4 separate regions of the Homo sapiens genome follow, and regions 2, 3 and 4 are each linked to region 1. The links are contacts of gene promoters, found by promoter capture Hi-C in blood cells and fetal thymus (Javierre and others, 2016). All regions are on one chromosome and are shown on one strand. The core of a region is centred on a gene start or on the middle of the fragment in contact, and the rest is flanking DNA. Distances in the headings are between cores, read along the strand shown. Region 1 holds the start of TENT4A (terminal nucleotidyltransferase 4A). Region 2 overlaps MTRR (5-methyltetrahydrofolate-homocysteine methyltransferase reductase). Region 3 has its middle 120 kb from the start of ICE1. Region 4 overlaps ADCY2 (adenylate cyclase 2).

Evidence for each region. The method cuts DNA at HindIII sites, captures the fragments that hold promoters and counts their contacts. A CHiCAGO score of 5 or more calls a contact.
Region 2: a fragment that was not itself captured here is called in contact with the fragment with the promoter of TENT4A in region 1 in 1 of 17 cell types (naive CD8 T cells); the score reaches 5.0 in naive CD8 T cells.
Region 3: a fragment that was not itself captured here is called in contact with the fragment with the promoter of TENT4A in region 1 in 1 of 17 cell types (naive CD8 T cells); the score reaches 5.1 in naive CD8 T cells.
Region 4: a contact is called between a fragment that was not itself captured here and the fragment with the promoter of TENT4A in region 1, in 2 of 17 cell types (monocytes and M2 macrophages). The highest score is 8.9, in monocytes.

What each region holds. Positions count from the first base shown.
Region 1 is chr5:6,708,730-6,716,274 of GRCh38, forward strand. It overlaps TENT4A (terminal nucleotidyltransferase 4A), which reads left to right and starts at 4,703. Exons shown (of 13, transcript NM_006999.6): 1 at 4,703-5,970. The coding sequence starts at 5,255. RefSeq lists enhancers at 3,792-3,851, 7,069-7,118, 7,419-7,478 and silencers at 4,022-4,461, 4,572-4,941, 5,242-5,311, 5,682-6,071. The HindIII fragment of the contact is 9,360 bases long and covers 483-7,545 here.
Region 2 is chr5:7,893,103-7,896,054 of GRCh38, forward strand. MTRR (5-methyltetrahydrofolate-homocysteine methyltransferase reductase) reads left to right here. Exons shown (of 15, transcript NM_002454.3): 12 at 2,632-2,750. Among named protein-coding and RNA genes, the nearest start is that of MTRR, 25 kb to the left of the region's middle. The HindIII fragment of the contact is 8,378 bases long and covers 1-2,952 here.
Region 3 is chr5:5,541,847-5,549,391 of GRCh38, forward strand. No RefSeq gene overlaps it. Among named protein-coding and RNA genes, the nearest start is that of ICE1, 120 kb to the left of the region's middle. The HindIII fragment of the contact is 220 bases long and covers 3,831-4,050 here.
Region 4 is chr5:7,750,774-7,758,318 of GRCh38, forward strand. It overlaps ADCY2 (adenylate cyclase 2), which reads left to right. Exons shown (of 25, transcript NM_020546.3): 16 at 6,676-6,813. Among named protein-coding and RNA genes, the nearest start is that of CFAP90, 97 kb to the right of the region's middle. The HindIII fragment of the contact is 4,872 bases long and covers 849-5,720 here.

The sequences.
Region 1 (7,545 bases), core at 3,453-5,952:
GGGGAGGATGTCATGTGATAACAGAAGTAGAGGTTAGCATAATTCATCCCCCATTCTCCCCCTTCCAGTGCCCCACACCGCTTGCAATATGATGCAGCTCCTTCCATCAAGAGGTGGAGGCTTCTTTCCCACTCCTTGACTTGTCAAGGCCTTGCCACTTGCTTTGTCTCACAGAATGGTAAGGAAGTGATGGCATGCCGGTTCTGAGCCTCATGCATGTCTGCTTGCACTCCTGAAACTCTGTTCAGCCACCTGAGAACAAGCCTGAGTCAGCCTGTTGGATAACAAGAGACTGATGGTCCTTGTCAACTCTGTCAACTCCAGTGCCCCAGCTGCCAGCCAGGCTACTCTAGCCCAGCCAGCCTTCAGCTGATTGGCCAGCTGAGTGGAGCAAGATCAGCTGTGTTTGACCCAGAGCAGCAAAACCACCTAGTTGATTTGTAGACTTGTGAGCAATACCAAACACTTATTTTAAGCCACTAAGCTTGGGGTGGCTTCTTACCCAGCAGTAGCTAATACCTACACACTTTCAGTTATTTGGCACCTGTGAGCAATTGAATTTGGGAACCCTGTTTTAGGTAGAGGTTTTCAGAGTTCACTGTGTTTTAGAATTACTCAGAAAATTTACTTAAAATAGAGATTCCTGGGCTTGCTCCTAGAGAGTTTCAGTAAATTGGGTGAGCTCTAGGTATCTGCATTTTGACCAGCATTGCTAATTCTGGCATGGGTAGTCCATGGAATACACTTTGTAAACCATTTTTTTCATGGGAACAAATCACTAAAATCATGGTGTAATCTCTAATATTATTCCTCCTCCAATATCCGAAGAGAGAGAGGAGAGGGTTTCAGCCCAAAACGGGAATGGGCTGCACTTATCTGTAGAAATTGATAAAGAGAAAGATCTCCCTTGCCCAGCGTCTCAAAAACTGCATTTTACATTCAGTATTGTTTCTTGATTGCATTAAGAAATACACTGCAGCCGGGCACGGTGGCTCATGCCTGTAATCCCAGCACTTTGGGAGGCTGAGGTGGGTGGATCACTGGAGGTCAGGGGTTCAAGGCTAGCCTGGCCAACACAGTGAAACCCCATCTCTACTAAAAATACAAACATTAGCCGGATGCGGTGGCACACACCTGTAACCCCAGCTACTCAGGAGGCTGAGGCATGAGAATCACTTAAACTCTGGAGGCGGAAGTTGCAGTGAGCCAGGATTGCGTTACTGCACTCTAGCCCGGGTGACAGAGTGAGACTCTCTCTCTCTTTCTCTCTCTACACATATACATATATATACACATATGTATATATATGTATATGTGTATATATACATATATATACACTGCTTTTAATTTACATAAAAATATTTATGATCATATATAAATAACAAAACCTTGGTTTTAATTACAAAATGTTGTTTGGTGGCTGGTGGATCAAATCAACGAGGATTAGCTAGAGGCAAACTGCAAAGACAGAGTATGAGGCAATCAAGAAAAACTTAAAATACCTAAACAATGACAACCTGTGTAACAGATCCTGGAAGCTGGACAAGGGCAACTGCCCGTGTCCATTCCCGCTGGGCCAATCAATCAGCTGCCAGTCATTCTGCCAATGTTCACCAAGGACTGATGTGTCAGACAATCCTTGAGCTGATACACAGCAGGGACAAGCCATTCCTATCCTCTCTTCACGGAGCATGCATTCTAATGGGGCGGGGGACACAAATGATAAATGAGATAAAATACATATGACGTGGTATAGTGTCCCCCAAAAAGATATGATCAAGTCCCAACCCTGGGTGCCTGCGAATATGACCTTATTTGGAAACTCTTTGCAGATGTAATCAGGTTAGGAGGAAGACACTAGGGTGCCCTAATCCAATGCCACTGGTGTCTTTCTGAGAAGAGACATGGACACAGGGAAAATGCCATGCGATGATGATGACAGAGAGTGGAGCGCTGCATCCACAAATCAAGGACACAGGGAAACGTCATGCGATGACGTGTCAGAGAGTGGGGTGATGCACCAACAAGCCAAGGAATGCCACGGTTTGCCAGCAACACCAGAAGCTGAGAGGAGAGCATGGGGCACACTCCCTTACAGCCTTCAGAGGATACACGGCCTTGCTGACAACTTGATTTTGGACGTTCAGCCTCTAGGACTGTGAGAGCATGCGTTTGTTGTTTTAAGCCACCCAGTTTGTGACATTTTGTTACTCAGCTCCAGGAAACTAAGGGAGAAAAAGCAAATGGGGAAGGGAAACGGGATGCTGAGGGTTATGTTTGCAGTTTAGACTAAAGAGCCACTTGGACGTCCTCACTAAGATGGGGAGGAGGGAACGCATGTCAGGCAGATGGAACAGCAAGTGCAAAGGCCCTGAGGCAGGAGTGTGCCAGGGGTGCTTCTGGCTGGTATTGTTTGGGCTAGGGAAAGCGCTGGGAGGTGAGGGCAGGGGAAGAGGGGAAGGACCAGGGGATAAGGGACTTGCAGGTCATAGCAAGGTTGTTCCATTTTGCTGAATGAGAAAGCCACTGGAGGGTTTTGAGCAGAGGAGTGGCATGGACTGAATTTTTTAAAATGTCAACTTTAAATTCTGGGATACACGTGCAAGACGTGCAGGTTTGTTACATAGGTAAATGTGTGCCATGGTGGTTTGCTGCACTTGTGAACCCATCACCTAGGCATTAAGCCCTGCATGCATTAGCTATTTATCCTGATGCTCTCCCTTCCCCTAACCCCCAACAGGTCCCGGTGTGTGTTGTTCCCCTCCCTGTGTCGATGCATTCTCATTGCTCAGCTCCCCCTTATTACTGAGAACATGCGGTGTTTGGTTTTCTGTTCCTGTGTTAGTTTGCTGAGGATAGTGGCTTCCACCTCCATTCATGTCCCCACAAAGGTCATGATCTCATTCCTTTTTACGGCTGCATAGTATTCTAAGAGTGGCATGAGATGATTTTTAAAATAGTAACATCTTTTTTGTTTTTTAAAAAGGATCACACGAGCAGCTGTGCAGAATGTGGGAAACCAGCTAGAAGGCACTGCTTTAAAATGGACGGGTGGCGGGGAAAGAGGGGTGGAGGGAGGAGGAGGGGTAGCAGTTGGGTTCTGGTTGTTTCGGGCAGTGGAGCCAAGAGGATGTGTTCATTGTGGACAGAGAGAGGAGCCAGGCATGACCAAGGATTTTGGACTGAGCCATTGGAAGCAAACAGCTCCAGAATAACGGCCGTTTGACTTGTGTGTGATTTTCTGTAGTTTACTGAATGCACGTTCTAATCCTTGGTCATGATTTCCACGTGTACAATATGAAGGTATTTGAAAACGTCTGAAACATTCATTTTCATTACTAACCACCACCACTTGCCCCAAAGCCTTTGTATGCAACACACGGACCTTTCCTGTTGGGGCGATGTTTGAAGGGTCAAGTGCTTAGTAATGTCTACTCATCTGTGCTGGAGACGAGGGGGTAGCATTTACAACACGCCTGTACGAAGGCCAGGTCCCGTTCTACTTAAAAGGCTTGGAGCCCGGGCGCCACTGGGCTAAGGCAGCTTCAGGGCCCTGGCCCGGGAGTGCATTTGCGGGGACTCCGCCTGAAGACAGGGCGGCAGCCGCGGGGCCTCACGTCGCCCAGGCTCGCGGGGCACCGCGATGATCAACGACACTGGCGTTTGCTTTGGACCTCACAGGATGTGTGGTTGGCGCTGTATTCCAAACAGTGCCACTGTCAACCCGGCTTCCATCGCGCTCGGGACACCGGGATGGCAAACGGCAGGCTGTGGATGGCGGGCGGTTTCCCACTGACTCCTGCCCGCTCGGTGCAGCTGGAAAAACCGAAGCCGGGGGCCGGACGCGCCGCCCACCAGCCGTTCCTCGGCTAGCACTGCCCATTTTGCCCAGGGAATTAACTTGGAAGTTTTCACTTCACTTTTCGCATAGAAAATCATTTTAAAAAGCAAACCAAACGCCTGTAAGCAGACCCGCTAGGGAGCAGGACTCTGCCGCGTGTCCTTCCCGGCTCCGGAGCGGCGGAGCCAGCCACCCGGCACGGCACGCTGGCCGCTCACCCCGCGAGGTGCAGGGAGCACGTGGGCCGACGCGCGGACCCCAGAGAGCGCAGCGTGACCTGCTGCACGGACCCTCGGATGAGAGACCTGGGGCGGGATCTGCGACCGGGGCCCGCCCTTACGTCAGGAGGGAGGGCCGGCCGGCGGGGGAAGCGCCTGCGGTGGCGTCCGCTGCCCCCGCCCGGCTGCTCGGAAACTTCCACCGGCGGCGGTGACGGCCACGCTGCCCTGCGCACGCGCAGCGCGGCTCAGGCGGCAGCCCGGTGACACCGGCCCTAGCGCGCATGTCTGCACGCCGGGGTCTGCGCGCCGCGGCGGGCCGAGGGCGGCGTGCGGGCCTTCCAGCCGCTGCCTATTCCACCCAACGCCGGCCTAGTCAGTAATGGCTCAACGCCACCGCCTCTCCCTCCAGCCCCTCCCAGTCGCGTAGCTTCTGACGCCGTCCTCACCCCGCCCGCGGCCGACGGGGCCCCAACGCGCAGGCGCGGTAACCACGGCGGCAGTGTCTAGTGAGGATTTGAAATCGGTCGCGCGTGCGCACCGGCGACACGGCCCGGCGACCGAGGCCGCGCTTCCTCCTGCCGCCCCCGTCCCCGCCCCCTCCCCCGCCCCTCATTGGAGCGGACGCGGCGGCGGCCCCCTCCTTCCCCCGCGCTGTCGCCGCCGAGAGTGTCTTTTCACCGCCGCCGCCGCCGCCGCCGCAGGAGCGCCGAGCCAGCGGCGCGAGCGTGACTGAGGGCTAGCCGCACGGGCGGCGGCGCCTCCCGCGGGTCCTTCAGCCGCTCGGCGCCTGGGCCCGCCCCCTCGGCCCCGCCGCCCGCCCTTCTCCGATGGCCTCTCCCCGCGGCCCGAGTGGAACGCCGCCGCCGCCGCGGCCCCCGCGCCCGCCCCGCGCCGCGTGAAGCGGGAGCCCGGAGACCGCAGCCGCCCGCTGGGACGCGCCAAGCGCCGGAGCCGCCCGCCGCGGCCTGCCGGGGCCCATCACCGCCGCCGCCGCCCCACGCCGGAGCCCGACGGGAGCGCGGCTAGAGCAGGAGGCCGGGGCTCGGCCCGCCCGCCGCCGCCGCCGCCGCCGCCGCCACCGGCCCAGGCCCGTCCGTCCGTCCGTGCGCGCGCGGCCGGGCCTCGGGGCGCGGCGGGGGCGGGGCCGCGTCGGGGCGGGCGGGCGCGCGGGCCCCGCGGGGGCGGCGCGTGGATGGATCCGCGCGTGGCCTGGATCCAGCCCGAGCAGAAGGGGCCGGCCAATGCCCTGTGGATGCAGATCTGGGAGACCTCGCAGGGCGTGGGCCGCGGCGGCTCGGGCTTCGCGTCCTATTTCTGCCTCAACTCGCCGGCGCTGGACACGGCGGCCGCGGCGGGGGCGGCCGGGCGGGGCAGTGGCGGCCTGGGCCCCGCGCTGCCCGCCGCGTCGCCCCCGCCGCCCGGCCCCACCGCGCCCGCCGCGCTGCCCCCCGCGCTGCTGACGGCGCTGGGGCCCGCGGCCGAGGGCGCGCGGCGCTTGCACAAGTCGCCGTCGCTGTCGTCCTCGTCGTCGTCCTCCTCGTCCAACGCGGAGTCGGGCACCGAGAGCCCCGGCTGCTCGTCGTCGTCCTCCAGCAGCGCCTCGCTGGGCCGGCCGGGCGGCGGCCGCGGCGGCGCCTTCTTCAACTTCGCCGACGGCGCGCCCAGCGCCCCTGGCACAGCCAACGGGCACCCCGGGCCGCGCGGCCCCGCGCCCGCCGGCTCCCCGTCGCAGCACCAGTTCCACCCGGGTCGCCGGAAACGCGAGAACAAGGCCAGCACCTACGGCCTCAACTACCTGCTGTCCGGCAGCCGCGCGGCCGCTCTCAGCGGAGGGGGCGGCCCCGGGGCCCAGGCGCCGCGGCCCGGCACCCCGTGGAAGAGCCGCGCGTACAGCCCGGGCATCCAGGGGTGAGTGCGCGGGGAGGCCGCGGGGGCGGGGGCGGGGCCCATGGTCCTGGCCGGCGCCCGCGGTGCAGACACCCGTCCCAGGCGCCCGGGCTTTTGGAGGATGGATGTTGAAGGCTAAGGCCAAGGCCCGACTCTGCACTGAAAGTTTTTTTTTTAAACATCAGACTCATTTATCGTGGAGTGACTTGCCCAGATCCTACAAGTAACAGTCCAAGAAAAGGGGCTGCTGGGTAGGACCTGCAGGTATTTGTCTTTTTTACTCTTGAGATTGGAACGGGAAATCGACTCTCTACCCCTCCACCCCGCCTCCGGGCAAGTGAGGAACCCCTTGTCAAAGTGGGGCGTAGATAAGTGTGGAGTTTCACGTAAGTTAAGTTGCAGAATAATTTAGCATTGCCAGGAACTCGAATCACGTCGAAGGTAAATATTAACCTTTTTAATTTCATTTTTTAAAAAAATTTAACTGTCAACTTAGAGGTGATTCATTTTTTGGGGGGTGTTGTGTCCTTTAATTTTGTGCTGCAATTACCATAAGCATCGCCTATGGTTTATAAACATTGGCTTAATTCAAAGAAAAAACCAGATTTGTCATATATGTCTATTCTTTGGAAGGTGCCATTTTTATTTTAAATATTTCTACATCCGCCTAGAGGGAATTAGAGGCTCTACTTAAATTTAGTGCACTTACAGACGGCAAGGAATGAAACGAAAGGTGGTGTGTGTTTCGGGGTTGGAATTGTCCCAGGTGAGGCTGTTCAGGTGTGATGCTGTTGACGCAGCCCCTTTGCCATTTTGGGCTTTTCTGAGCGTCTGGAAGCAATTTATGTGTAGGTTGTATGTCAGTATTTTAAGACTTAAATGATAATTTTTCCTTGCACAATTTTTCCCCCCAATTTAAAAAACAATTAAGGATTTGCTGGGGTATGAGGGTTGTTGCATGCAGTAGAGTCCTACAAATAACCACAATTGCTAGGTGTTGGGAGTTCTTATAGTAAACTTTTGCTTGTAACTCTTTTTCTCATTTGAAGTATGTTGGGAAACACGAGTTGATACTTCTTTAAAGCGTGTGATACACTGTAATAGCTGCATGTTCTGTAACTTATTTCACCTGGCTTGGGCTACAAGCGATACCTTCTAAATTTCCCGAAGTGTAAACATGCAGTGCAGACGCCGGCAGGAGCGCAGACTCCTCTTCTCTCCCTCCAGTTCTTACCTGTAGAACTTTCTGAGAGCAGGTGGTTGGGAGCAGTTTCTTCTTGATGAATAGCAATATATACCTAAGGGCTCGCTTGGGGAGGACCTTTAGGTTTCCAGCCTGTTATGTAACTGGAATGGACTCCGTTTCTCTTAGCACTAGAAAAAACAGGAAGACACGTGGTCTCTGCCAGTCTTGGGTTGTACCTCTGCTCTTAGAAAGTGGTAGCGCATCAGGTCCCATGCACCTCACTTGGGCTCCCCGAGCTGTTTCCTCCAGGTAACTCTAGTCAGGCTCAGTAGGTGGTGTTGCTTTTGTTAGTGAATGAGCCCACTAGGATCAGGTGCTGTGCTAGGATCTGGGGATCTGGGGCAGGGACG
Region 2 (2,952 bases), core at 453-2,952, 1.2 Mb after region 1:
ATTTTCTGAATGTATAAAGCATGAATTTTATATAGTACGGTCTTTGCTTGTCCTATTCATGGAAAAGAAGACCTTTTATGTTGATATTCTTGGTACATTGGCCTGGGGAGGGGTGGAGAACTGTCTAGGAAGTATTTAAGGGGGGTGATGAGAGACAGTCTCATTTTATGTTTAAGATGTATACTGCCTCTCAAATAAGTAGTTTTACATTGGGAGTCTGAGGGCAACTAAAGATTAATTTTATATTGTCCAATTTTGGCTAGTAGGGTCCCCGCATCCCTGTTTTTCTGCTTTTGTTATCTGTGGTGTCTGACATCTGAACTTGTGCCATTATTGAGAAGACATATGGCTGTAAATACTTTTACAACACCTAGGAGTAAAAGGTTATGTGATTTTCTCAACAGATTGTGGACACTTTACACTTGGACTCAGTGACATCTTTTTATGTTTTGATACGGCACTCAGCAGAATTTCGAGACCACGTGTGTAGGCAACAGTTTAAAGTTGTCCACAAGAATGGTTGAAATAAAGCAACATTTCAGGCTTTATCATGAAGTCCTCTTTCTTCATAGTAATGAAGAAATCAGTGATTCACTTGGAGTGTTGTCTTAGGAGAAGTTTGGTTTCTTTATTAGAGTTGAAAGGTTCATAGACCTCAATAGTGGGGATTAGGACTTCTTGGGATATACTTGAGAGGATAAGGGATGATTGCTGCTTGAAATTGCCGTTTAACTTGATGTTTTTCCAGTCTGCTGCCTGGAACAGAGAGATGCTTTATTGTGTTCTCTATACATCATGTATTCATTATACATCAAAATATTAGGAACCTTACAGAAACTTTCTTTTTTGAGAAGAAATATTATAGTACTGATATACAAGTATATGTCACTTGGTGATTGTATAAAGATAGCAGATGATCTCCAGAACATTAAAAACAATGTGTGTCCATCATGTATCGTAAACACTAAACATGGGTGCCTTTCACCTACTCCTCCTTTCCTCCCTCCCTCTCTTCGTCCTTCCTTCCCCATTTTAACAGATTTTTATTAACTATCCAATCTATATGCAGTAGAAGTGCAGATATGAAGGATATAATTTAAAACTATCTGAAATTACCTGTGCTTGTGTTGTGTTTTATTACAAATTATACAGAATGTTGACTTTTGCAAGACCTATCACCCACCCTGCCCTACTATGGCGGATAGTACAGTTATTCACAGATTAACCCTGCCACTGATGTTCAGCCTGGCTGTGTGAACAGAAGGACATCTGCCACATCTAAGCAGGAGCACTAAGCCTGTGGGCGTGGTGTAGCTTGGCTCTCTTCTTCCTATCTGCCATGATATTCTCTCCACATAGACCCTCAAGTGAAGCAGTCCCACAGCCTTCGAGGAAGAGAGCCCCAGAACGTAGAAAGTGTGCTGTTGTCACAGGATCTTTGTACATGTGTTTTTCTTTTCTGCCAGGAATATGCTCTGGCATGGCTAACTCCCTTGATTCAGATCGTGGTCAAAGGTCTCATTGTAGACATGGGCCTTCTTTGACATTGGTGTTTGAATTAGCAGCTCACTGCCACACCCATCATTTCCTTATCCTGTGTAATTTTGCTTCCTAAGACATTGGGAAGTCATTACCCATCATTCTGTGGATATATGTGATAATGTGTATGTTTATTTTCTTTTCCTTCCACTAGAATGTAAGTTCCGTAAAGACAGGGGCGTTGTTTTGTTCATTTCTGTATCCTTAATGCCTGTCATGGTGAATACTTTCAGTAAATCTGTTAAATGAATGAAGCAAAGAAGGCTAATGTAATGTTAACTAGTTTCATTCCCAAGTAAGAGCAGTAATGAGACACAGCTTTGCCATTCCTTCATTTAAAAGGTATGGTGTTCAGGCTCGTCATTACTTCCTACAGTCGTCCTTGAGTTAAAAGTTAAAATGTATACAGTTACACCACCATGCAAGGTGGAGGGGAATCCTGTCATTCTTAAATCTTGGTATCAGTATGACTTTTGCATATGACAGTGAAACTGGAAGTGAAACATACTCAGATTGATTCAGAAATATCTTTTGAAATTTTAACAAAAAGATTTTGATAATTATATGATTTGTTTAGTTATAACAAAAATAATTCTGGGTAATATTGGACCCAGAATAGCAAATACAGCACCATTATCTGGAATATTTGGAGCAGCCCCTCAATTTCTTTTTAAGGTGCCTGACTTTTATTTAAAATTTTTCAACCTCATCGTGATGCTAATCTTTATTGTCTTCATATTTAGGGTACATTTCTCCATAATATATGCTATTGTCTGCCCACCAGAAAGCAGATCTTATCCATAGACCAAGAAACATGATTTGATTATCTATTTAGAGTTCTACCTCAAAGACACCATGCCTATCATTTTTTACAACATTTTTTATTTGAATAGAAAAGAAAAATTTGCAAGACAAACTTCTTTCTGTAGTGACAAATGTGCTCATGGTTTCAATAAAATCTGATGCCACTATTTAGTGATGTTTCTTTGATGGGAATTTTCCCTTTCTGATTTGTTTAGCAAAGATCATCTTGATTATATACTCTTGCCTAGGTTTTCTTTCATACTTACCACATTTGATGTAATATTTCAGATATCCATCTCTCCTCGAACAACAAATTCTTTCCACTTACCAGATGACCCCTCAATCCCCATCATAATGGTGGGTCCAGGAACCGGCATAGCCCCGTTTATTGGGTTCCTACAACATAGGTATGTTCTTTTTTTGGCTAATGGGAAAATGTATTCCTGAGTAACCGTTTTTGTTTCTTTAGTCATTTTGAGGATAATTGGACTTTGTAAAATTTTTATTTAAAAAATTATTATTCAATGTGCGATAACATAATTTGTCACCATGGGAAAAGTAAACACAATGTTGTAGAGATTGTGCTTTGTACTAGAACTTCCTTTTTTA
Region 3 (7,545 bases), core at 2,691-5,190, 1.2 Mb before region 1:
TACACAAAATACACAAATCACTAGTTACAGCCAATCAAATGTTGGCACTTAAATATCCTTATTACCAATACTTAGACCAAGGTACAGAACATCGTCAGGACCCCAGAGTGTGGCTCAGGCCGCCCCCAGTCACTGTGACCCACCACGTGACTTTCACCATCTTAGATCAGCTTTGCTCATTTTGAATTTTGCAAAAGTGGAATCAGGTAGTATAATCCCCTCATTACTGGCTTTTTTCATTCAGCTCCACTTGTGAGATTCAGCCACGTTGTAGCACATAGCTATGGTCAGTTCATTTTCGTTGCTTCATGATAGTTGTGTTAGTTTTCTACCATTTATTTCGCATTCCACTGTGGATGAACATTATAATTATTTTCAGCTGTTGGCTATTTTGAATAATGCTGCCATAAATATTCTCATCCATGTCTCTTGGTGTATTTGTGCATGCATTTCCTTTGGGTATAGACCAAACAGTATAATTTTTGGGTTGTAAGGTAGGCATTCATTCAAAATCAGTAGATAATATCAAACAATTTTCAAAGCTGTTGTGCTATTGCTTGTTACCATCAGTCTTTCAATTTATCCATTTTGGATGGTGTGTCATGGTACTCTATTGTGGTCTTTATAAAATATTTCCCTAGATGCCTAAAAAATTAAACACATTTTTTGTGTTCATTAACCATTTATTTAGATGTGCTCTTTTGTGAAATACCTATTCAAGTTGTAGGGGAAGAATAATTCCCATAGGTCCTTAGTTGGAATGGACCCTGTAACAAAAGGCAGGTTAAGAAGAGAAAAACAAACAGAAGTGCATTTCATATGTACCTGGGAAGTACCCAGGGAATGAGCAGTTCTCAAAGATGTGGCTTTGAATTCCAGCTTATGTGGCATCTGCAACAAAGGACAGTAAATTTTTAGAGCAGTGACAAGACAAGGGGACAGTCCATTGGTCTCCAGAGACTACAACTTGAAGGGAGGCAGATAACTGTCAGATAAAGGCGAGCTGGTGAGGCTTGCTCATGCAGAGTCCTCTGGGACCATCGCCAGGCAGATAAGGACCTATGTTGTTGTCAGTGGGTAACTTTTTTCTTCCTGGTAGAAGGGGTGGGCAGGATTCCCTTTGTCTTTGTAAATCTATGTCTGGCTTTTAGGCAAATAGAGCACGGAGAACTTCTCTGTTTCTGCTGCTTCTTAATCGCCTTCAGCTCAACAATTCTTCATATATTAGGGTCCATATTCTGCTCTCCCTGCAAGTCTCTTGCCTGCTTTTCTCTATAGGGTTCTCTTTTTCTTGTTGATTACTAGGGTTTCTGCATGCTAGTCCTTTGGAGGTTGTCTGTGATGCAAAGATCTTTTGTTACTCCGAGGCTCGCCTTGTCACTCCCTTATTAATGTCTTTTTTGATGAACGCACTTTCTTAAATTTAACACAGCTCTGTTAGTCTTTTCATTTATGTCTTTTCCAAGGTCATGAAGATATTCTGTCATTCTCTAGAACTCTTTTTGCTTTATGTTTCACAGTTAGGTCTTTAATCCACCTGGAATTGATTTTATGTCCTGTGATTCATTTACTTCCCTATGGGTGTCAGCACCATTTACTGGAGAGACCATTATATCCTCATTGTGTTTCAGGGCCACCTTCGTGGTGCAGCAAATGACCATATGTAGTTGCTTATGCCAGTTTTCCAAAGAGGTTATTCCATTTTTATAAGATTGTTCGTCCTTATGTCAGTACCAAAGTGTCTTAATTATGGTCTAGTAAGTCTTGATATCTGGAAGAGATGTTCTTCTTCCTTGTTTTTCTCCTTAACATTGCCCCTTTTTATTGAATTGGTTAAGTATTTTTTTATAATAATTATTTCATTTCTTCTTCTTTTTTTTTTTTTTTGAGACAATCTCGCACTGTCACCCGGGCTGGAGTGCAATGGCACTCACTGCAACCTCCGCCTCCCGGGTTCAAACAATTCTCCTGCCTCAGCCTCCCCAGTAGCTGGGATTACAGGTGCCTACCACCACACCCGGCTATTTTTTTGTATTTTTAGTAGAGATGGGGTTTCACTATGTTGGCCAGGCTGGTCTCGAACTCCTGACCCCATGATCTGCCCTCCTCGGCCTCCCAAAGTGCTGGGATTATACGTGCGAGCCACTGCGCCCTGCCTAATTATTTAATTTCTTAGTCTTAGTTGGTTCAGGCTGCTGTAGCAAGCTTACCATTGACTGGGTGGCTTAAATAGCAAACATTTAATTCTCACAGTTCTGGGGCCTGGAGGTCTGAGATCAGGCTGCCAGCATGGTTGGGTTTGGGGTGAGGGTCTTATTCTAGGCTCACAGATGGCTACTTTCTTACAGTGCCCTCACATGGCACTGCCCTCACAGAGGGAGAGATTGGGCGGCTGGGGAAGAGAGAGACGTGCTCCTTATATAAGAACACTTATCACGAGGGCTCCACCCTCCTGATCTAATCACCTCTCAGAGGGCCCGCCTCCTAGTACCATCTCATTAGAGATCACTGAGGGTTCAGATTTCAACACAGACATTTTTTGGACACAGACATTCGGTTCATTACTCGGTCGTTATACACTCTTCTAAAACCAGTGATCCTGCTAAGAGAACATAACAGGTGTCCTTGACCTACCAAGTCAAATATACATAAGCAGGTTCACTCCTTTGCACTCAGTGCAGGAAATTCAGGCTGCCCTAACTCCATTTAGCTTCCTCCCACCTTATGTATTATTATGGCCATTTATTTTAATTCTGCATTATTGTCGTTTTAATCAACAATTCTGTTTAGATTTACTCACATATTTCAAGCTTCACCTCTCTTCCTTCTTCAGGTTTTAGCAGCAGATGAATACATTTCCTTGAGCATTTTCTTCAGTGTGGTTCCAATGCTGACACATTCTGTCAATTTTGTTTGTCCCAATGTGTCTTAATTTTACTTTTGTCTTTGAGATATATTTTTCTAGAACCTAACTAAATTTAAAATCTTGTTGTTTTTTTTTTTGAATTTGAAGATATCTTTTTATTCTCTTCTGGTTTTTATATCATTTCGAGTGAGACATTTGTTTTAAGTCTTATGGAGACCACTTCGAAAGTAATTTTCTTTTTTTCTCTGCTTGCTTTTTCTTTTGTTTTTAGGGATTTTTCCATCCTGTGTCTAGGTGTGGTGTTTTGCATTTATCTTGTTTGGGGTTTGTAGAACTTCTTGAATATGTGGCTTGAGGGCTTCCATCAATTTTGGAAAATTATTATTTTTTGCTTCTTTATTTTTCTCTTGTGTTTCTGGAAATTCAGTTATAAGTAATGTAGACCATCTTACCACATCTCTGCATCTCTTCTGTTCTTTCTGTAATTCTCATTACATTGTCTGGATAATTCTTTCTGACCTATCTCAGTTTAATAATTTCATCTTTAGCTTTTTATAATTTTCTCTTAAATCCATTAGCATGCTGTTATTGCAGTCCTAGAACATCCACTTGGATTTAGAAAAACAGTTTCTGGTTCTCTACAGGAATTCTCAGTGTAGCCTTTATTTCCTTAAATGTATTAACCCTTGCTATTTTGAAGTCTGTATCTGATAATGCCATTATCTGACTCACTTATGGGTGTACTATTTCTCTTTATTTTAAATAATTTTTTCTTATCTCCTTATGCATAATAATTTTAGACTGGGCATAGGCATTGTATTTGAAAACTTGTAGAGCTAATTTGAGTCTCTGGATGATGCCATCTTTCTACACAGAGGGTTTCAATTGGCTACCAGAGGGTAACTAGGCTAGGGAGTTCGAAGGCCAGGATTACTTTGACTCCTCAGGGATCGGCATGGCTCAAAGCTTGGATACTGATTTTGTCTGAGAGTCAGTGTGTTTCTGGTTGCTCTTAATTCTATAATATAACTCTTTGATGTCCCAGCCTAAATCATAGGTGCTTACCATAGCCACCGTCTGTACCTGAAGTGCCTTAAATTCCAGTTTCTGTCTCTGTCTCTGGGAATCTGTCAAGGGCTCTGTTCATCTTTACTTGTTCTGCAGCTTATTTCAGAATAAAGAGAAGCTTTTAGGGGTAAAATTGGCCCACATGCCAGAAACACCTGTCTATGTTTTATTTTTCTCTCAAACCTTGGCTGGGTAAATTTTTATTACTACATTAGCTTTCTGACACCTTTAAATACATTTGAACAATATTTTCTCAGATTTTCTTCTTGTTCACATTGAGGAGGATTCATCTGATATTAGCAGAGGTGGAAGTCATCTATATAGCGATATCTTAACCGCATATTAGATAAATCTATTTCACAAGAATGTTGTACATATGCACGGGAAAGTATTAGGACCCACCCATGTAGCTAAGCTCCCGAGACCCTGCCCCTCTCCCACCAGCCCTCTCCTCCCTGGTTGTGATCGTGCTAAAAAAGATAGTGCCCGCATAACAATGCCATCCTTTTGCTCTGAAATGTTCACAGCATTGGGACATCTGCCCGCTTTGATGTTTTTCTGTTATTAACTGCCTATGAGATCAGCATGGAGACTGTCATGCCTCAGACACTGCGTGGACCACCTGGAGGTTCCACCTGTGATCCCACCTGCCCTAGAAACTGCAGTCCTGGCCACCACCACCCCTTCCTCCTTGAAGATGGCTTTCATGCTCAGGTTTCATCACAGCCCTCATCCAAGTCTGCCTTGGTTGCAGTGCACATGGCAGCTGATGATTGGAAACCATGCTGGTTCACTGTTACGGCTGTCATTTGCTGGACCATTACCGTGTGCCTGACACTGCCATTAAGTGCTCTCCTTATAGGTCTCGATTACTTCTCACATCATTCAGCAATTTCATCTTTCTATGTCCACTTTACAGATTAGGAAATAGCCCCAGGAGATTAGTTTGATTGCCCAAGATTATACAGGAAGACTGTGGAGGATCCCAGGAGTGGACTCTGGCTGGGCTGACTCCAAAACCTGTGCTTCTGAGCCTTGCGCCTTACTGCTTTGTTTAAGCACTTTGTGCAAAGAAAATCACCTCAGTTTCTAGAAAAGACAATTTAGGGGCAGAGAGGGACTCATCCCCATGTATGAGCAATGTTCAACACTATCTACTTTGATTTTATTTAATAGCACTTTAATCAAGGAAACCCAAACTTATTATCACCTGCAGGTAGACAAGTAGTACATTTTATAGACTTTCTTTACTGCTTTTTATTTGTTTTTGGGTTTTTTTTGGATTTCTTTTTGCTTGAAGATGGATAATTTCAAACTCCCTGGATAAGTTTTCCCTCTGTATATGTGTATAAATGTCATGTACCACAGAATGACATTCCAGTCAACAACAAACCACATACATGAGGATGAGCTCATAAGATTATAACACGATATTTTTACTATACCTTTTCTATGTTTGGATATGTTTAAATACACAAATGCTTATCACTGGGTTGCAATTGCTTACAGTATTCAGTATAGTCACCTGCTGTACAGGTTTGTAGCCCAGGAGTGATACACTGTTCCCTGTAGCCTAGGTGTGTAGTGGGCTGTACCATCAAGGTTTGTGTAAGTCCACTGTATGATGTTCACACAACAATGAAATCACCAAATGACCCATGTCTCAGAACATATCCCAGTTGTCAAGTGACACATGACTGTGTATGTGATGGGTAATTTTATGTGTCAATTTGGCTAGATCATGGCAACCAGTTTTTGGTCAACCTCAAAATGTTGCTATGAGCCTGTTTTTCAGATGTGAGTCACATTTAATCAGTATTCCTGAAACTGTAAAACTGCTAGAAGAAAATAGGGGAAAGCTCCACAAGATTGTTCTGGGCAATGATTTTCTGGATATGACTGCAAAAGCCCAGACAACAAAAGTAAAAAATAGATAAATAGGATTAGATCAAAGTAGAAGTCCCTGCACAGCAAAGGAAACAATTAACAAAGAGGCAACCCACAGTATGGTGTGGTAGAAAATGTTTGTAAACCGTACATATGATAAAGAGTTAATATCCAAAATATACAAGGAATTCAACACCTCAACAGTAAGATGACAAAAAACCCTATTAAAAAGTTGGCAAAGGACCTGAACAGACATTTCTCCAAAGAAGACATACAGATGTCCAATAGATTCATGAAAAATGCTCAACATCACCAGTCATCAAGGGGATGCAAATTAAAGCCACGAGGAAATATCACCTGACCCATGTTAGTATGGCTATAATCAAAAAGATGAAAGATCACAAGTACTGGTGAGAACTCAGAGAAAAGAGAATCCTGGTACACTGTCACTGGGGGAGTAAATGAGTGCAGCCATTATGGAAAATAGTATGGAACTGCCTCAAAAAACTAAAAATAGAACTACCATGTGATTTAGCAATCCCACTTCTGTGTATCTATCCAAAGGACTTGAAATCAGGATCTAAAAGAGACATCTGCACTCCCGTGTTCACTGCAGCCTTATTTACAATAGCCAAGAATGAATGAATTAATTCATTCTTGAATGAATGTAAGTTTCCATTAGACCAAGAAGAAAGACAATGTGGTGCACATACACAATGGAATATTATTCAGCCTTAAAAAAGGAAGAAGGTAATTCTGTCATTTGCAACAAAATGGATGAACCTGGAGGACATTAGGCTCAGTGAAATAAGCCAGGCAGCGAAAGGCAAGTACTATGTGATCTCACTTATATGTGGGATCTAAAACAGCTAAACTCATAGAAAGAGAGTGTAGGACAGTGGTCACCAGAGCCTCAGTGGCAGGAAAGTGAATGGGGAGATGTTGGTGAAAGGGTGCAAAGTTTGGAATAAGTTTTCCAGATCTATCGCCCAGCAAGGTGACTATTGTCAATAAGAATGTACTGTGTATTTCAAAATAGCTAAGAGTAAATTTCAAACATCTTACCATAAAAATGATAAGTGAGATGTTGAATATGTTTATTAGTTTGACCGAATCATTCCATGATATATGTAAATCAAAACATCATATTGCACCCCACAAATGTATATAATTATGATTTTTCTCATTAAAAAACTAATAAAAAGCATTAAATCAGTAGACTGAGAGAAGTAAATTACCCGCTATAATAGGGGTGGGGCTTATCCAATCAGTGGAGGCCTTAGTTGGAAAAGACTGACCTCTCTCAGAAAAAGAGGGAATTCTACCTCTCTATTGCCTTTGGACTTGAGCTGCAACATCACCTCCTCCCTGGATCCCCTGCTTACTGGCCTGCCCTGCACATTTCAGACTTGCCAGCACTTACAAATGAGTGAGGCAATTCCTCCTTAAAATAAATCTCTACCTCTATCTCTATTTCTATCTCTATATGTGTGTGTGTGTGTGTGTGTGTGTGTGTGTATACACACATTACACATCCTATTGGTCTGTTTCTGTGGAGAACCCTGCCTAATGTATTTGTGTGAATGAGTATTTCATTTGTGAGTAGATTATTGAGTCTCAAGCCTTTGTAGACATATTCACATTTAATGCCGCTCATGTCCTGGGGAAAATCTCTGTGAGCAGAGCATGATTTTCTGTGGGCCATTAGAAACAGTGTTCTAGTA
Region 4 (7,545 bases), core at 2,035-4,534, 1.0 Mb after region 1:
AGGATTTGCTCTTTGTATCATGGGCAGTAGATTCCAGGTGTCAAAGTGCAGCCTGACTTTTATTTTTGAGACTCAGCTGTGTATTCTCTACCACAGACCTCATAATCCGCTCTAGGTCTGCAACGTCATTGTCCAATATCTCCTTGTGTTTTGTCTCTTCCCTGGTCTTTCTGTTCTGCTTTTTTCAAACTTTTATCAGAGGTATGTTGAATCTCTTCATCATATCCTCTGTGTCTCAGTCTCTTTTTCCTATTTTCCACTTCTTTATCTTTCTGTGCTATTTTGTGGTTTATTTCCTGAGATGTTTCATAGCCTCTCCCATTCACGGGCAGTTCATCCAGTTCCTCAATAACCATTTAGTTTTTAATTTCAATATCTACATTTTCATCTCTAGAAAGTTTATGTGGCTCATTTTAAAAAATACTTGTTATTTTTCCTTAACAACTCACTCATTCATATGGATTATAATCCCTCTTTTGTTACTTTAATCTTAATTTAGAAGCTATTTCAGGTTGTTGTCGTATCTGCAGATCTCGTGGTGCTAATTCGACTACCTCTAATGTCTTTTGATTCTTCCTCATATGGTCCATTGCCTTAGGTACTTTATAATTTGGTTTTTATTGTGAGGTTATGTTCAGGAGGAACTGCCCCAGCCCCCAGATGGGACATCCCTGCACACTGTAGTCTAAAGTATCATTTACCAGCAGTGTCATTCTTGCTTCTGCCATAGCCCCAAGGATTTTCTCTGGTTTTGACCTAATTAACAACCCTTCAATTTGGAATTCTTATTATGAATCAGGTAATGTGATTTCAAACCCAACACTTTAGGGTTTGGATTGATCCTTGGAAGCTTATTGACACTTCCCTGAGCTAGTGAATGGGGCTCTTCTAGACTTCTTTGTACAGAAAGTATAGCAGTTTGAGGCTCTGGATTTTATTCAAGAGTCTTAGTTGCAGCTGTCCACGTTTGGCTGGCCCAAGGAAATATCTTCTTTTCCCTATGGGTGTTAAAAGCTCACCCCCTAAGTGCCATAGCCTGAGTCCTGATCCAGGACACTCCTGGACCCACCCCACAGCCTCAGTTCCTTTATCACTGAGCTCTCTCTTTGTTTCTGTGCCCTGGTAATTTCCCTTTGAGTCCATCATTAAAAATAGTAAACAGAATCAACACGTATTTGACGAGTTCCTACCATTTAACAAACACTATACTGGCCTCTGGGAAAACAGAGACAAGTGCGATATGGTCACTGTCCTCAACCACCTCTGCATTTGGCCAGAGACAAGCATGTCAGCAAAAATGATGCAATGTGGTACCCAGTGGAGCAACAGTGCAGGGATGTGGCTCACCCAGGGCGAAAAGAAGAAACAGGTTGATTTTGTAAAATATGATTGATTGGCATAAAGAAGTCTTCCTATGGGAAATTAAAGGACAATTAAATAATCAAAGTACACATCACAGTCTTTGTGACATTAAATGTTACAAGTAATTATTGCTCCGGCTTATTCCTGCCATTCAGAATGACGGTCCTCAGCTAATTAAAATGCCAAAGTAGATGTTCCTTTAGGCAAATACACAAAAGTACATGTTTATATGAAACATGAAACCACTATATTTTCCAAGCAAGATTTTTAAGATGGATTTCGTTTTTCTAATAATAAAAGTTTGCTTCTCAGCCACTCTGATATCTTTATAACTTTTCTGGATTTTTTTTTTCATTTTATTAAGTTCACTTAATATGAGCTTCTACTTCTCTTCAAGTGTCTCATCTTATTGTTAAAATGGAAACTAATGAAACTGTAAATGAAGTCTACTTTTATAATGATTAAGTTAAATTATGAAGAATTAATTTTAGAGTGAAAAATTTAGATTTAACTTAATTTGAGAGACTACCAGTTGTTTCCATTGCAAGTGGATCAAAACAAGGGAAGAAAAAAAAAAGGAAAGAGAGAGGGAAGGAAGAGAAGCTGGCTGATATTTTTGGTGGAGCATGTATGAACATTTTGTTTTTCTGAGGAAGATCTGCATGTACTGGATTAAGAACATTGGGATTCATCCCACGTTTTTCCTACCACACCCCACTGCTCGTTGTCCCCATCATCAATTCTATGATAGGATTTTCCTTTTTTTTTTTTTTTTTTTTCTGAGACACAGTCTTGCTCTGTCACTCAGGCTGGAGTACAGTAGTGCAATCTCAGCTCACTGCAACCTCTGCCTCCCGGGTTCAAGCAGTTTTCCTGCTTCAGCCTCCTTAGTAGCTGGGATTACAGGCACCCGCCACCACACCCAGCTTATTTTTGTCTTTTTAGTAGAGACAGGGTTTCACCATGTTGGCCAGGATAGTCTCAAACTCCTGACCTCATGATCTGCCCATCTCAGCCTCCCAAAGTGCTGGGATTACAGGCGTGAGCCACAGTGCCTGGCTAGGATTTTCCTATATATTTCTTCTTTTATTACATCTCCCACTGCATTTAGTATCAATCCCTTGTTTGTTAATGGATGAATGTGATATTCACATCCAAGTGCATTTCTAGAAGGTACACGGTGAGCTCACTGTAAGTAAGAGCCGATCATGGGGTTCAGTGAGATGATCAAGGAAGGGAGGAAACAGATGTGGTTGAAATTATGCCAGGAGTTAAACCAAAGATCAAAGAAAATGACTCCACTGACTGGGCTCACAGCAGGCATTTTCTCATTTTCAGTTGAATAGTATCTTCCAAATAAAGGCCAAAATATTTTTTGAGATGTTGTCATTTATAACATTTAATTAGGATGGTCGGAATTTTGATAAACATTTTTCCACCAGAGCCTTTAATACTTAATCAAAAACAGGATAAACTGAAGCCAATGATCATATCAAGAGCCAAGTTGTAATTTTTCTACAGAGCTACACACTGAATCAAGGGTCTCCATTTTTCTTAATCAGGTTCCTTCCATTTTAGAATCTTAGTCCTGTTTCTCCTCTTATCCCCATCATTGGTTTCTTCTGCTCCCCCCACCAGCTTGATCCTCCACTTCCTCTTTCATCCCTGTCATTGCAACTGTCACCTCTCTGTTCTCTTCTACTTTCTTGTCCTTGCCAGCAGCAATGCCTACCAATTTTTACACTTCAGAACAGGTTTACTTACCTTGTCACTGCTTGGTGACAAGGAAAGATACCGCCTGTCTCCCTGACCTCTGGAACAACACATTTGGCATAAGTTTTAAAACAATTGTGAGGGAGAACTTTGAGGTATGCATGGAAAATGCATGGGTGAATAATTGAACCAAGCGCATCCTGAACCTGTTGTGCCAAACCCATGTCTGCCAAACCCCCATGCGTCTAGTAAGTAGCTGCAAGTGCTGCCGATTCGTCATTTTGCCTGGCATGTCACACGAACAGAAAAAAATTCCTGCATATCTGCCCGGGTCTGTTTTAGTAAGTTACTAGCCTATGAGCAGAATATAACATATTCCTATTAGATTAGCATATTTGACAAGATTATCACCACGTATTTTTCTAAATCTTCAAACACAGTAACTTGTTTTAATTTTGTAATTTCAAAAATTTGTCTGTGTAATAACTAGCTAATATTTTACCTAATTGACAGTGATATGCAATCTTAGCTAGATGTACATTTTCCCCTGAAGTAATAAACTTTTTAAATGTTCTACTGTTAACATTTTCATTATCATATCTATTGATAATTTCTGTGTACAGAAATTATCATAATTTCACAAATATAAGAGCATTGATTTTAATAATTTTCTCTTAAAGGTACTAACTGTAGTCAATCTGGATGTGAATATATAAATACTGTCTTAATTTGTGAGAATCAAACCAAATGCCATTATCTAATGGAATCTGAGCTAGATGAGCATAATATTTCATTTGAAGCTCGGCTCTTCATATTGTATTATAGGTTGGTGCAAAAGTAGTTGCGGTTTAAAGGTAATGGCAAAAAACAAAACAAACAAACAAAAAAAACTCAGCTACTCAGGAGGCTGAGACAGGAGAATCGCTTGAACCTAGGAGGCGGAGGTTGCAGTGAGCAGAGATCGTGCCATTGAACTCCAGCCTGAGTGGTGAGAGAGCAAGACTCCGTCTCAGGAAAAAAAAAAAGAAAAAACAAAACAAAACAAAACAAAAAACCTTCTTCTACGGAACACAGATCTGACTGTGTTTTGTGATATTAGTATTATTAGAAGTAGCATGCATTAAACAATAATGATAACCATTCGTGGGTGGATGTTCTCTGGCTACCTGACCCTCTAAGATGCTGCATGTTCAGAGCATTAAGGGACATCTTGCTGCATGACAGATTTCCTGCCATCACCAACCCCTATCCAAACCTGCTCTTAAGTAGAAGCGTCAAGTACAGATCTGGTTCTTCTGTTGCCGGTGATCAGATGTCCTGCAGAGCTGGGCCGAGGGCGCCCCCTGCCGCCAGTCAGCAGTCCAGCTCTGGGCAGCCTGTGCGGCTGAGGGCAGCAGTGGCTCAAGCTCCCTGGTAGGTACTCAGAGAAATGAGACGAGGGCGCAGGAAAATCAGCCCAAGAAGTGAACCCGGAACCTGGTCCTGCGTCTCCCTCAGGGGGGCATGTGCGCTGTACACAAACATTGTTCATCTTTTCCTATCAGGAGCTGGAAGGAAGAAAAAAAAAAACATGGTGGAAAGGAGTAGAGAGGAGGAGATTTTGTTGTTGTTTACATAGATATAAAGGAAATAGGATTTTGGTCACTAAAATGTTTCTAAGAAACATTGTGTTTTCTTCATTGAAATAACAGGAAGAGCTAACACTTGTAAGTCCTGTTGCACGCACCTTCTCTAACTCGTTTAAACCTCTGCAAAGACAGAGGAGGCAGGTACTGTTATTATCCCCGTTTCAGAGAGGAAGAAACTGGGACCCCATTTCAGAGAGGATCATTAATTTGCGCAAGTTTCCCAGCAGTAGAGGTTTGAAGCTAGGCCATGGCTGATTCTTTAACCTTCTCAACTCCTCTCTCCTGTGTTTAGACGATCATTCAACTGTTGTATCAACATTGAACATACAGCAATGCTTAGGGCAACAATAATTTTAGGAACAATACAAAAATAAGATGTGAAAGAAGTAGAGAACTGAAAGCGCAGCCTATTTGTGCTGTTCAGGAATATTCTTTATTTGAATTTGAATTTCACTGATGTCACACCAGCTTTGTTTGCCAATAGGTTAACTTGGTAGTATCGATCAAAGGGCATAATTTATGTTATTCCTTCTTCTGAATTTCTTGAAATCATCACCTTGTTTTGTTTCCAAGACACATAGCCTTGGGACCACAGGCCCGTTAGTGTGAAGATAACAATGTCAATCCCTGGAGGACTTTTACTTCCTGCTTCTCATATCAGATAACGTATGCAAATTATGCCCACGCAGCATCTGCATAGGCAGAGTTGATGTCACCCACAGTTCAGTGGAACTCTGTGTACTGCTCCACACTCATACCTGGGAGAATATGGTGAGAATCCTTGGAAAGGTGGCCCTCAAGATGGGTGAGCTTATGCACTGAGACCCCATGGTGAATGGGGAGCAAATGCTGGCTGTCGTTCCCCAAAGATCTCAATTCCTTCTTGTATCAAAAAAGTTTCCCCAACCCCGATATGTATAGCCGCATATTCACAACAGCCAAGAGGTGAAGCAACTCAGTGTCCATTTTATGAATGGATAAAAAAAAGTATAGATCCATACAATGGAGTTTTATTCAAGCTTTAAAAAAGAAGGAAATCTTGGCATAATGCTACAACATCGTGATCTCTGGTGACATTATGCTGAAAGAAATAAGCCAGTCACAAAAGGAGAACTACTAGATGGTTCCACTTATAGGAGGTCTTAGAATAGTCACAGTCATGGAAACAGGAAGGGGAATGGTGGTTGCCGGGGGCTGGGAGGAGGGAGGAACGGGGAGTTGTTTTTCCATGGGTATAGAGTTTCAATTTGGTAAGACTGAAAATCCTAGAGATGTTACACAACAATGTGAATGTGGTTGTCACTACTGAACTGTACACTTGAAAATGGTTTAAAGGGCACATTTTATATTATGTGTTTCTAACACCGTTAAAAATTGTTTGGAGGGAAAAAAGGAGCTTCTCCGTGTGGGAGAAAACCCCCACAAGACCAGACGAGACCACACAAAGCCATCAAGCCTCGTGCCTGAGATTTTCAGACACCGTATTTGTAAGTTCAGGCGCCAAACTAAGTCTGTGGCCTGGGCTGTATTCTTGTAATCTGCTAATGCAGTGTTAAAAGGGTTAGGAGATGTGTTGATCGCTTGCCACATAAATCAGCTGAATAAATGATAACTTTCATCATAGCTGTGATCAGAGACCCAACACATCCCCCAGGGTGATTTAATTAACTGACATTTTTCCTTTGAGAAAGGAATCACTTAAAAACATAATTTCAGGTCTGTTTTAAAAGACATACAAGCACATTGTACCTTTGTCATAGGCATTTAATTTGTTCTCAATTGGTAGCAATGATGCCAACATAATTTTAATAAGGTTTGTGACTTCGTATGGGTCCCCAGGGGAGGATAGAATCTACATGTTTAGTCTATGAACAATGTTGGTGCTTCTTGTGGTTGTAAACATTGTCATCAAGAAACTGGAGAGAAGTCATCAGCTAGCAATGCTTCTCTTTTTCTTTCTCTCTTCTCCTAGCAATGCAGCAAAAAAGCCTCTCCCCTGCTCATGTGGCTTTTGAAGTCCTCGGGCATCATTGCCAACCGCCCCTGGCCACGGATCTCTCTCACGATCATCACCACAGCCATCATATTAATGATGGCCGTGTTCAACATGGTAAGTCCCAGAGCACGGCCGTGTTCAACATGGTAAGCCCCAGAGCATGGCCGTGTTCAACATGGTAAGCCCCAGACCACAGCCGTGTTCAACATGGTAAGCCCCACACCATAGCTGTGTTCAACATGCTCAGCCCCGGGGTGAGTCAGGGCTCACAGCAGGCAGGGCGTTCTTCCCTTCTGGGACCTGTTCTGTGGAATTTTGGAAACTTGCATTTGGCTCCTTTGCAACACCAGTTGCTGCCTATTAAATTTAGCATCTCTTGGCTACAGCAGTCATTTCTCTAAGGAAAGGGGTGCTTTCACAGAGCCACCTTGAGAGACTGGGTGACTCCTTGGATCAGTTCCCCACTTCCTTGCTCATGGTGGCCCCTCAACAGGCTACAGAAATAACTGCAATGTCTTAAGGATAGTCATGAGGGACAAAGGAACCCTCAAACTAAGGAGAGTGCGGTGTCCTGCCCTGGAGTTTAAATGATGCGATTGCAACCCCTTGCTCCCCGTCTCACCAGCTGCACGACTAGAAAGACGTTTTCATTGAACTCCACAGGCTCCATTTTCACTTCTTTGAAAGTGGGAACCAAGACTTCTCTACCAAGGTGGTTCTAAGGATTCAATGAGCCAGTGTTCCCACCACACTTAGGACAGTCCTGGCCATTTTGTAACTATTGAACCAATGGCCACTCTGACTATATCAGTCTCATCAGTGCCGGTTATCTCCCCCACAATAGAC